Linked DNA regions of Homo sapiens: regions 1 and 3 are each linked to region 2. Evidence: promoter capture Hi-C in 16 types of primary human blood cells and fetal thymus (Javierre and others, 2016). All regions are on one chromosome and are shown on one strand. The core of a region is centred on a gene start or on the middle of the fragment in contact, and the rest is flanking DNA. Distances in the headings are between cores, read along the strand shown.

Region 1 (4,379 bases), core at 518-3,017, 660 kb before region 2:
TCATAAAGAAATAGAGGTTCTATAAATTATCTAGAAAAGACACACATATAGGGACAGAGGTTACACACACACACACACAATTTTCCCAACATGTCATCTTTTCACTTTGTTTATGTAACTTTCATAACATTTTTAGGTAATCAGAAATATTAATTCCTTTGAGGCTCCTGGGTCTTCTGTCTCACTTCAGAAGATCACTCCATCCTGTTTTTACATAATATTTTCCTAAATTCTTCTGGCATTTTTACCATTTTTTACATTTTGGTCTCTAAATCATATGGAATTTTAAAATAAAAGTTAGGAGTCTTTCCAATTGAGTTGTCAGTTACTAAATACCATTTATGAAGCAAACCACTCATTTCTCCTTCAGTTAAACTACCATCTTTGCTATATATCAAATATTCTTGCATAGTTGGATCTGCTTCTAGACTTACCCTTCTCTTCTACTAATGTGTTTATTCCTTTGCCAATAATAAAAGTTTGCTGTTTTGAGTATATTTTATTATCTGATAGGGCAACTCTCCCCTCACTGATTCTTAGAATTTCTTGGCTTCTCTTTGACATATGCTGTTCCATAGAAACTTTAAATTAATTGTATCTGGTTCTAAAACGAAAACAAGAAGTACAAATGAGATTCATTTTGAAATTATATAATTGCATACTTTACATATAAATTAGGAAAATGTTAAATATTAAGACTTCATTTAAGAATATACCTATAAATTTAATCAAATCTTGTTTTATGTTCTCATTATGATTTTATTTAAGCAACGTGGGTCTTATACCTTTTATAATAAATTTAATTCTATGTTTTGTAGCTTTTTATTATGAAAAGGTTTAATGATTATATTTTAACTATTTATTGTTACTACAAAGGAGTTATTGGTATTTGCATAGTCTTCTTACCAAATTTTTTTTATCAATTCTAATAGTATTTTTTTATTAAAGTTGCTTTGACAGTGTACGATCACAATCTGAAAATACAAATAATTTGATCTTTTTCTATATTTACATTGATTATTCTACTTTCTTGTCCGATTACATCAGCTAGATTTCCAAAATAATATCGTATATGTAACCCTAGGAGAGTTTTTTATCACAAGCACAATCTTCATTACCAGGTAAAACAACCCTACACCTTTTCCTCTCCTTCTAATCTGGAATAATACAATCTAGAAAGAAACTTGGAGATTTTTCTTTTTGTTCTCTCTTGAATTTAGGGAACCTAGGATAAATAAGCTGTAAGTAGCCAGCTACCTTCTTTCTTTGGTCTGCACCATTGGTTTCCCTAATTGCCTAATTAAATTGTACCTTTTTCACAGCTTAGAAGACAGAGATTGTGTGGAATTCCTCAATCCACCCCCTGCTGATCCTCCCCTCCGGAAAAAAAACCCTAAGAATGTAAACTTTCAGAGTCAAGTAATCCCATCTAATCAGGGTGAACATATATGCATTGTAGGGGCAGAAAGGGGTGATCCTTTCCTCCCCATCATAAAGGGTTACAGCGGACACCCCGGGTTAAAAAAAAACAAAAACAGGTTAACAACAGAAAAGCATAATAATTTTATTATGTGTACGTGTGTGCACAGGAGCCATACAAAATATGAAAGGGGACAGGTGGTTGAAGCTTAAATACCCTCTTCTTAGGGTAGAGGAATACTAGGGAATGAAGAGGTCCAGTGCTTAGACAATGATTGGTAAAGGATTCTCTTTGCATAGTATCTAGATAAAGTCCCCCAGTTAATCTCTCAGCTGTCCTCAGAAGAACAGAAGAAAAGTCTGTTTGGGTGTGGTGAGGACCCCTGTCTCTACTCTTCTCTGATGGCTCATTTTTTTTCTCGTTATTTGATGAGAGTCCTAGGGAGGGATTCTTGAGACAATTGCATTTCATTTGGAAAGAAGCTTCCTTAGATAAGAAAATTCCAGAGAGAATCCCCCCAGTTGCTTCAGGAAAGAGGATCAGAGAGACAGGGAGGCAGGGGAAGGTCAGAGACAGACTGGTTCTGAGGCTTATTTCTGAGACCTTTCAGTTTTCCAAGCATTCATCATGCTGAAGCACCATATTTTGGGGAATTGTTTTCTGTGCCCCAGCAATACCCACCACACCTTCCTGCATGTCTACATTTCCTTTGTTTTTTCTGGTTTTTAAATAAATCCTCTTCCCTCCCTTCTTTGACATTATCTTATACTTTAAACCCCAGCTCAAGTGTCACTTTCTGAAGGAACTTTTTGAAGAAACTTCTCAAATCTCCTTACAGTTCTCCCTCTGTATCTGTGGGTTCTGCACCCATGGATTCAACCAACTGTGGATAGGAAATATTCAAGAAGAAAAAAGCATCTGTATTGAACATACAGAGATTTTTTTTCTTGTCATTATTCTCCAAACAATACAGTATACCAATGATTTGCATAACATTTACGTTGTATTAGGTATTATAAAGTAATCAAGAGATGATTTAAAGTACATGGGAGGATGTGTGTCAGTTATATGCAAATACTGTGTCATTTTACATAAGGGACTTGAGCATCCAAAATCCTTATCTCTCTTTCATAACGTGTCACAGTTGAGTTTTCTATTTATTTTCCGTGATTATTTGTATAATATCTTTTTCTCCCGTTGGACTATAAGACCCATAAGGGCAGGTATAGCATTTGGTATTGCTCCTCATTTTATCCCTAGCACTATGCAAATGATGACTTGGAGGATATTTGCTGGCCAACTGCATCACAGAGGCAGAGACTGAACAGGATGTAGCATGTAGGCGTCGATGCTATTTAAGCACTTTCTTGTAGGAACCCTAAATAAAATGCCTCTACTGGTTTCACTGTATATTCATTATAAGAGGTTTAACTCACTCTTCAGCCTTCCAGTGGATTTTAAAATGACTATATCTTATAATTCATAGGCCTAAAATAATAGAATTTTATGAATAATCTCAGTTCTTGTCTTGTGAAAGTATTTCTGATCAGTCACATTAATACCCTTAGTCATTCAAAAAAATCTATGTTATCTGCTTCTTTATGACTTACTGAGTAGGAATTTCACTTTTCAAAGGAATATTATTTGAAAATATAGCAATGATATATGCTGTTTAAAATTGATTCTGTTTAATATGTTCTTATGCATAAGCTTTAGGTATCTAATACATTTTAGCCATACATTGCAAATCTCTATATATTTTAATATTATTATTGGTTAGCGTACTTCTTGGCTTACTAATGTCCACTGATGTCAGTCTTAGTTATTGTCATTCCTTCCAATTTGGAAGAACGTTTATTTTCTAACACTGACACATTTTGCACAGTGAATCTATAGGAAAATGTGACTGCATAAAGACAGTCTTCATTTCAGTGCTGATGCTCACCTTTCTGCATTAACATGAGTCTCTTTCACGTTTTATTTCATCTTGTTGCAAAAACCAATATGCTTTGGAAAGTGTAATAGTACATTTTTTTAGAGAAGTAGCATGAGGTTTGTTTCTTTCTCATACAGATCCTGAAATGGAAAATGAAGAACAACCATCCTCTGAAAATGATTCTCAGAATCAGAGTGGTGAACAGATTTCATCAAGTTCTCAGGAGGTTGATTTGGTTGATCAAGAGTCTTCTGAGGAAAATTCTCTAAATTCTCACCCAGAATCATTATCTCTAGCAGATATGGACAATGCTGCAAGCATTTCCCCTTCTGAACAGACTTCTAATCCCACAGAAAACCATGAGACTACAAATCTTAATGGTGAATGTACAGATTTAGATAACCAGCTTCAAGAACAATCAGAAACTGAGGAAGATTCCAATCCTAATGTTAGCTGGGGTAAAAAGGTCCAGCCTATAGACTCCATATTAGCAGACTGGAATGAAGATATAGAAGCATTTGAAATGATGGAGAAGGATGAGCTATGACTTGCTAAACAATCTGTTGGTAGGTATTTAAAAAGAAAAGGTAAACTGTGTGTGGTTAATAGACATCCTAATACTAAGCAGGCTTTCTAATGGGAGGCTTTAAGTATGGTGATGAACAACCACGTTCTGACTGGCGTAGTTATCGTAGGAATCTGGAGCATGCTGTGTTAGAATTGACCTTGTTTAAAACTGTCCCATCAAAAATGGAAATCCACAGTTCCCCCTTCAAATGCAGCACTGCACCACCCTGCAACACCTCAGGCCAGGGAAAGATTACTGAGCATTCCTGCGAACCAGATTTCTGTTGTCTCTGGATAGACAAGAAACAAAATTCATTTAGTAGTGGAGTGGGGAATAGGAGTTTGGATAGCCTTCTAATTAAAGGAAGCTCGCCTTTCTTGGTTTTGGGGGTTAGAGGCTCTTTTGGGAAGATGCATCCGAGTATTGTGGCATTCTGATTATGCTGCCTTCACAAA
Region 2 (4,310 bases), core at 1,658-4,157:
TACTGATTTCTGAAGAACTTATGAAACAAATCTGTTAGTAAGATGGGGACTTAATTTTTCCCAGGCTTCCCCTCCACTGCCTCCCAACCATATTTACAATGATCTTCTACTGTTGCATACCCTGTTATTACCTTAATATTCTCAGTCACTAAATGAGCACTCAATTAAAAGTTTTAAATAGGTGTTTTGTAGGTTATGTGGCTGGGAAACCCTTGATTTCATCTACAGAGCAGAGCAGGTTGTAGTTATTTTAAGAGAACTCCATGGAGCCGATTTCATTATAATGTCATTAGAGACCATACAGGTTTAGATGCTTCACCTTTCTTTGAAAAAATAGACTCAGATAAGCTGTTGACTTTAGGTAACTGTATTAGTCTGTCCTCACGCTGTGAATAAAGACATAGCTGAGATTGGGTAATTTATAAAGAAAAAGAAGTTTAGTGGACTCACAGTTCCACATAGCTGGGGAGGCCTCACAATCATGGCAGAAGGCAAAGGAGGAGCAAAGACACACCTTACATGGCGGCAGGCAAGGGAGCATGTGCAGGGGAACTGCCCTTTATAAAACCATCAGATCTTGTGAGGCTTATTCACTATCACGAGACTAGCATGGGAAAAACCTGCCCCCATGATTCAATTACGTCCCACGACACGTGGGGATTATGGGAGCTATAATTCGATGTGAGATTTGGGTGAGGACATAGGCAGACCATATCAGTAACAGAAGGAAAATAAGACAGAAATGTGGTTGCCTAGCTTTAAACTCCCTCTGTTTGCAGTAAAGTGAACAAATGATAACTATCAAACCAAGTTTGGCTAAGGAGTGCGGATTTTAGTATTGAAAGATGAGTGGGACATAGTTCAAGAAAGGGAAACAAGAAAGACAGAACAACATGGAGATTGTCTGGACCTTTCTAACAGTCCCATCACTACCTCCCTTGTGGAAATGACCACATCTTCCTCTATCCCTTCACTGTAGCTGGTACATCTGTTACAGTACTTCTAACAGATGTTTAACTCTCAGTCTTCCCTACAAGACTGTGAGCCCCTTGAAAGTGGGAACAATTCCTGAAAATGGATGGAGGGGAAGGAAATGTCTGTAGGCCATTCGATAAAAAAATATGAAGATTAGAGAAGAGATTAGAGCAGAAGACATAGATTTTGAGGATATAACCACAGGAGACCATATGGAGTGGGAAGACTAGCACACTATAGGGAGGCACACAGTGAAGGGGCTTGGCTCAGAGACAAGTAGTATCAGAGGAGATCTAGGATGGGAGATTATGTAATCGAAGTCCAGGAAGGTGAGAACGGAAGAGTTTACTGAATCTGCCAATGCTGAGGCCATCTGTTGGTTTTGCAGAACAGTGGGGAGGGCTGACGCCTTACTGCACTGTGGTGGGAAAGATGGGAGATGAAGAAGTGGAGAATACAAGTATAGATCTCTCTTCCAAGGAGCTTGGTCAAGCAAAGGGATGACTAGAAGAAGACACAGGACTTTTTTTTAAAGCTTTTCTTTCTTTTTTTTTTAACGGATAAGAGAAGACTGACCAAGTATTTAGCTTGAGAGAAAGGAGTTGATAGAGATCAGTTGAAGATTCAGTAGAGAGTGGAATGATAGAGAAAAATCATGGGCTAGAAAGGGAGACCTCTCCCTTTCTAGTCTGTGATCAAAGACCCTGTCGTGAGGAGGCACCTGCAAGTAAGAAAGGTCTTGGTAGGGATGCTAGTTGGAGACAGTGGTGTTGGGGGAGCTGGATGAAGGAGGTGATATACTTCAAAAGACAGTAGGGAAGACTTCTAATAGTTGCTGAGAAGGATTGATAACAACTAATAAAAAGACTATGGGACAGACCTGAGGGTGAGTTGGGATTGGAGATCATGAATGTGCACTGGCACCAAAACACCCTCCATACTTATCTATCAAAGGCTACACAATATATCTTCAAAACTAAATATCCAGCCGAGCATGGTGGCTGATGCCTGTAATCGTAACACTTTGGGAGGCCGAGTTGGGCAGATCACTTGAGCCCAGGAGTTCCAGACCAGCCTGGGCAAAATGGTGAAAACCCGTCTCTACAAAAAAAAAAAAAAAAAAAAAAATTAGCTAGGCGTGGTGATGGACACCTGTGGTCCCAGCTACTCGGGAGGCTGAGGTGGGAGGATTGCTTGAGCCCAGGAGGTCGAGGCTGCAGTGAATTGTGATCGTGCCTCTGCACTCCAGCCCCGGCAACAGAGTGAGGCCCTGTCTCAAAAAAAAAAAAAAAAAAAAAGTAAATCTCCTTTAGCAGTGTATGCCAGCAGTTTCATTTTATGTGCTAATTGTGTTCTTCCTTCACCCCTTCTTTTCTTCCTTATCTCTTCTCTGCTCTCCAACATGCGCGAATTTTCCCTCTTTGTTACTCTATCATATTGGCTTATTACGGAAAAAGAAAACCAGCTAAGTGAATTTATTCTTTCACAGCCCTCCTGTGAGGAGGCTTACTGGGTTCACAGTAGAGTGAGGCTTCAGGACAGTGTCTCCCAAGGGCTTTCTTTTATTTTGCGGGGTCTGATCTGGCTCCAAAATTCTCCAAGTCTTCAAACTTTGTGTTATTAGGTGTCTACTCAGTCAAGAATGAATTTCAGAAGTTGAGTATATAAGAAAATGCGACATGCTGCCTTTGCGGTGGTTAAACAAGTGTTTGTCATAATCGTGAATAGTTGGGGAGACTTTTCATTTTAGAACTCTACTCAGTCAATAGGTGCATTATGAAAACTGGATACATTGCATCACTGTGAAGGGCTTCAGTCTGCGGTTTGCAAAAGCAGAATAAATTTTCTTGGGGTTGTACCGTTATGTACACACACACACACACACACACACACACACACACACACTCACAGGCTCATTGGCAGACAGGGCCACAACTCGCGGCTCTAGGGAAGGCCACAGACCTCAGCTGTACGAGCGGAACCTGGACTAGAGGAACTTTCCTCAGGACTCAGGGCACACAGCCCCTCGGCCACTACTGTCTGCGAGCCCGAGGCGCAGGGGAGCGCCAGCGGCTGCAGGTACGCTGCGCACCCGCACTGGGGCCTGGGCGGTGCAGCGGCGGCGGGAGGGTCCTGGGAACCGCAGCCGCCGAGGCCAGTGTGTGAGCCGGCCGGCCGCGGCAAGCCGCATCCCCCGGCCGCCCCTCGCAGCCCCTTGCTCCCCGGCAGCCGCCGCCGCCCTCAGGCAGCCCAGCCGGGCGCTCGCGCCAGGACTTCCCCGCCGCCCGCCTCGGCCCGGAACATGGCTGCGCGCCCTGCTGCCACCCTCGCCTGGTCGCTACTGCTCCTCTCCTCAGCCCTGCTCCGCGAAGGCTGCCGAGCGCGCTTCGTCGCCGAGCGGGACTCGGAGGACGACGGAGAGGAGCCGGTGGTTTTCCCGGAGTCGCCCCTGCAGAGCCCCACGGTGCTCGTGGCGGTCCTCGCCCGCAACGCGGCGCACACGCTGCCGCACTTCCTCGGCTGCCTGGAGCGGCTGGACTACCCCAAGAGCAGGATGGCCATCTGGTGAGCGCGCACGGGCCCCGGGCCGCCGCGGCGGGACGCGGGGGCGGCCTGCCCAGCGCGGACAGCGCCCGGAGCAGCAGCTGCAGGGCGAGGGAGCCGCTGGAGGGGCGGGGGGGCACGCGGAAAATCTGGCGCACACACCCCCTCGCTGCCCGCGCCGGTGGCTGGCGGATCGGGCGGTCAGGCTGCGGAGGGACGCGCGGGTCAGTGTGCGCAGAGGGTGCTGATGGGGAGAACCGGACCGCTGGAGCTCTGGAGGGTAGCCTGCGAATTGGGGCTTTGTCCCACAAGGGGCATGGGGGACACCCCTCAAGGGGACTTTCAGTTCCCTCGCTTTTAACTCTCGAGGTTTCCTCTTTCCCCACCTCATACTGCTAGCCCTGACGTGAGGGGATAGGGTGCCTGTCGCCGTATTCCCATGTAGATACGACAGATGGAACGTAACTGCGGTTGGCCAGGGGCTCCGCAGTGGCTGGGGCGCCGCAGTGCGCTGCTCTGACTTTCCGGTGCCGGGCTCCTGCTCCAGGCTGGAAATGTGCTCCTAGCTCTCCTAGGGGGACCTGGACCTAGGGGTGGAGATTGGGCGGAGCCCGCGGAGTGTGCCCAACCATGGCACCACCGTGGGCCTGGTCTCCTGCGAGCGCTCCGGGCTGTCCCTGCCGGTGCATCGGGGTTCCACGTCCCGGGGAGAGACGAAGATGCCCTGGGAAAGATAAACAGCCAAGTTTTGTCCCCGGAGGAAAGAAGCTTGGACCTGGTCCCTGTGTCTG
Region 3 (4,386 bases), core at 1,823-4,322, 620 kb before region 2:
AAGAGACATTCTTGGCCAAGAGAAACTTGTGGGAAGGAGTTTGATCGATGAACAAACACAGCAGTCTCTTTTGCCATAGAAGGCAGGTGGCAAGGATCAGAGTCAGAGGGTCCGTGCGCTACAAGGGTTCACAGATCACTGGTCTGTCTTCTTCATCTGACCCTGTCAATTACTTCTGAGATTCCCCACCCCCACCTCCAGGAGCTCAGGTGCAGGCTATAGTCTTCTTCTGCCACTTCTCTGTTCTGTCAGCACACCACTGCTTCTGTGCCCTTTGCCCTTGCAGTTTGGGTTTTCCAAAGGCAGAAGCAAGGACAGCGTTCTTCAAGAGGACTTCATGGTGTTTTAGAGATCAACACCTTGGAAAGGAAGAAAAGAAAGAGAATAGGGCCTGGGAAGACAGCTTCAATGCAGACCCAATAAAGCTTCCGGCAACCAGGTGAAGAATCTCCGGAGAGACCATTGCCCTTCAAATGTTCTGTGCCACCTGGGCCAGGATTTTAATAAGCTGCTTTGCTCAGTCTCCATATGAGAGCTGCCCAGGAAGGGAATGTCAGGGGCAAGGAGACTGCCTGCAACTGAGGCAGACCCTGGAGAGATAGAGGCGGGGGACTAACTACACTCCCACAGTGATCTGCTTTTGGGGAGGTGGCGTGGCAGAGAAGACACAGCTTTCTTCTTCCTCCACAGTGAGGGAGCAGCCTCCTTCACTACCCTCAGTATTGGTGCTCTTTAGAGGAATTTTCTGAAGGGCTGGGGACATCAAAAAGGAAGTAGGACACAGTAGAGAATAGGTCATAATTAATGTTAGAGGTGGCCACTGTCAGGGCTCACAGGTCCAGGTGGGCCTATCCTTGGCCTCTGCAGAGGGTTTTGGGGCCAGGCTCCACTGGCTGGGCCTGCCCACCCCTGCATCATGACTTCCTGTCCAGACCCAACTGCCCAAGGTCAGGAGAGAAGAAAATGCTCTCTGCCTCAGCCCAACTCAGGGCCTGGCTTCCCAGGCTCCATTTCTTGTGTTAGGATCTACCCTTTCTCAGCATTTTTTCAAAGGGGGAATGACTGCCTCTTTCTTGGGGAATGCCATTTTACACACACAGGTGGGGAGTGGGTGGGACAGCCACCTCAAGCTGGTTTCTCTTCAGCAGATTCTGGGTGGCTTAATCTTACAAAATGGTTTAGGCAGAGCTGCCCTAGGCCAGTCCATTTCTTTCTTACTGTGTCATACATGGGATTTGGTCCTGTAGCACTTCTTTCCAGCTCTCTACATCTTGCAAATTATGCTTTAAAAATCCTCATGCGTTTGATATAGGGTGCATTCTAAATCATTCAGAAAAGGAAAACATTTCTCCTATTTTTCTCTTTCCCTCCCTCCTCACCATAAAACAAACATGAAATCTCCAGTCAGAAGAAAACATAACCCAGTCTACAGAAATCTGAGCTCTGGCACAAGCAGACACATGTTAGCATCACCCTGCAGAACACTCAGCTTCTGAGGCAAAAATATTTCTTTTGGGAGAGGGATGATTTTACTAGGTTTTTTCTGAATAAACTTTATGAAACCACACGGTTTCTTCATATGGTTTTCCCAGAATAAAAGGACAGTCTACCAAAAGTGAATTTGAGTTTCAGTCTTTTCAGGAAACAGTGGCTTGCATTTTAAAATCATTGTTTTCTTCAGCTTTTAAATTAGTTAAAAATTAGTTAAAAAACAAATTAGGAAGAAAATTCTAGCTACAGGATTCCATAAGAGATACACATAACTGTGAAAATAAGAAAAAAATTCCCTATGAATAAATTGAGAATAACTTGAGTGGGAAAGCTTTAAAAGGTTTAAAACAGAAGAAAACTATCATGCAAGCATACTAATACATATTATTGCAAAAATGTTTAAGAAAGAATGAGCAAAGAGAACAATGTATCATAATAGTAATAATATTTGACCAAGGAGGGCTTATTATAAAAATACAAGAATATAAGAATGGTTCAATATTAATAAATATATTAATGAAATTCATTATATCAGTATATTAAAGCACATTATTAGTCAAAAAACTAAGTAAAGTTATAAATAGAAAAGTATGAAAATATGATAATGATGAACAAATATCAATAGCAAACATCATCATAAATAATGAAATGAGAATACCATTTTCATTAAAATCAAGAACAGAAAAGACATGCTCATTATCCCCAAAATTCAACATTAGTTAATTCTAGTAAATGCAAGAAGGCAAAAATTGAAATATTTTGCATAAATATGGAAAAAGAAGAGATGAAAGATCATACTTTAGTAATGTAATTTTATACCTAGAAAATTCAAGAAATATCATAATATTAGAATTAATATGAAAATTTTACAGGATATAAATATAGACCTGAAAGGCACAGGAGCCATATGAAGTTAGCTATAATATTTTATCAAATGATCTAAAGCAAGATCAGAAAAGTAATCAAAATATATAGTATGGAAAGGAAAACTTCACACCATAAAAATGTCATTTTCCTCAATAGTAACATGTATAATTAATGGAATTTTAATTTAAGTGGAATTTAAGTAAGGTTTTTATTTAATTAGATACAGAATTTTTTAAGATTCATGTGGAAGACTATGTATGTCCAAGAATACACATAAAATAATGAGGAGAGAGTAGCAAAGGAGGACTTTACTACCAGTTCAACTACTGGAAGTCTGTTCTATAGAAATAAAGCCACCAGTATAAGGATATTCACTGCAGCATTGCTTGTGGTGGCAAACATCAAGAAACAAACTGAGAATTCATTGAAAGGGGAATGGGTAAAATCATGGCATATTCTTAACCATGTAATGTTGGGCACTATTTAAATAGAGCTTTACCAATTGATTTGGAGAGATTTTCACAAAACGTTTTTAAGTGATAGAACAAACTTCAGAGAATGTATAGGGAAAAAACATTTTTGTAAAACAAATATTGACAACCCTTAAATACATGTATACATGTTTTTATATTGTTACATGAACATGAGAATGTTAGAAAAACTACACAAGGGGTTATTAACTGAGCATCTGACCTTATTGCATGTTCTAATTATATATATATATATACGTTCAAACACAAAAAAGTATAGAGAAAGAGACAGATAATCTGAAATCCCACTACCTGGAGATAACTACCATGAGTATTTTAGAGTTCATCTTTCATACATCCCTTTGTGCATATTCACGATTTTATGTGGACAGAGTGAATGCTGTTTTTTAAATCATGAATTCCTTTACATATAAAGAAAATAAAATAAATCTAGTTTCATTTGGGGGAGTAAATTCCAATAAACTCTCACATTGAGTGAGATTCTACTATGTGAGTAGAATTCTGGAGTAAAAGGAGATGCTGAGAAGTGACGGCTCTTGTCAGTTAATTACGTACATTTGAGCAAGTCATTTCAATTCTCTGGGCTCCCATTCCTCCCATAAAATGAAGGTGAAGTGGATGAGCTCTTAGCTTCCTTTCTGTTCCATCCAATACAGGAATATCTGATGCTCCTATATTGTTAGCTGTGAGAAAATCAGAATGATGGACAGGAGGGAAAACACAGGCTCTAGAATCAGCACTGAGGTGAAATACCAAGTTTGTTATGACTGCACATCCTTGGGCTAGAGAAGCAAATTCTCTAATGAGGCTCTTTGCTTGAAAAATGGAGAACTAACAATTGCATTACAGAATTGTAAGGACTGACTGGAAAATATACATAAAGGATTAAGCATACATTATATATCTGGAATTATATATAATATAATACATATATTATATATATTATATATAAGCATATATATATATCATGCTTAGTGCTTTATGTATATGTTCCATGCTTAGTGCTTTATTTATATATCCACATATATACATGTGTGTATATATGTAAATATACATAGCATATAAACATTTATATATAAATATTATATATTATCTGAGTTATATAATATATAATGTACAATGCTTATATATTACATGCATAGCAAGAAATATACATAACATATATGTACATATGTCTATACATATGTAAATAAACATAGCAGCACTCTTTTGGATCTAACACTAATTAAGAGACAAAATAATTTTTAATAAACAAATTAAAATAATAGACTTTATATATAATTTCCAAAGGGCTGCTTTGTCACTTAAAGTGAAACATAGTTTAAAAATAAGACATGAAACTCCATGGGGGGAAAATAAGCAAGGATGAAACGGCAGAATAACTTTGCAGCTCTTTCAGCAGGCTCATTTCTGAGCACGGTCTATTTCCTAAACAGTTTACTAATGGAACGTTTCTATTTTGGAGAAGCTTGTTGAAGTCCACCCAAACAGGTGCTACTGAATAAAGCCTTCCTGGGTTTAAGCAAAATGAAAAGAG

Evidence for each region. The method cuts DNA at HindIII sites, captures the fragments that hold promoters and counts their contacts. A CHiCAGO score of 5 or more calls a contact.
Region 1: a contact is called between a fragment that was not itself captured here and the fragment with the promoter of COLGALT2 in region 2, in 2 of 17 cell types (megakaryocytes and M1 macrophages). The highest score is 5.7, in megakaryocytes.
Region 3: a contact is called between a fragment that was not itself captured here and the fragment with the promoter of COLGALT2 in region 2, in 1 of 17 cell types (endothelial precursors). The highest score is 5.2, in endothelial precursors.

What each region holds. Positions count from the first base shown.
Region 1 is chr1:184,693,587-184,697,965 of GRCh38, reverse strand. EDEM3 (ER degradation enhancing alpha-mannosidase like protein 3) reads left to right here. Exons shown (of 20, transcript NM_025191.4): 20 at 3,494-4,379. The coding sequence ends at 3,903. Among named protein-coding and RNA genes, the nearest start is that of EDEM3, 59 kb to the left of the region's middle. The HindIII fragment of the contact is 275 bases long and covers 1,630-1,904 here.
Region 2 is chr1:184,036,325-184,040,634 of GRCh38, reverse strand. COLGALT2 (collagen beta(1-O)galactosyltransferase 2) reads left to right here and starts at 2,907. Exons shown (of 12, transcript NM_015101.4): 1 at 2,907-3,540. The coding sequence starts at 3,278. RefSeq lists a silencer at 3,095-3,184. The HindIII fragment of the contact is 2,777 bases long and covers 1,513-4,289 here.
Region 3 is chr1:184,657,368-184,661,753 of GRCh38, reverse strand. No RefSeq gene overlaps it. Among named protein-coding and RNA genes, the nearest start is that of EDEM3, 95 kb to the left of the region's middle. The HindIII fragment of the contact is 2,495 bases long and covers 1,825-4,319 here.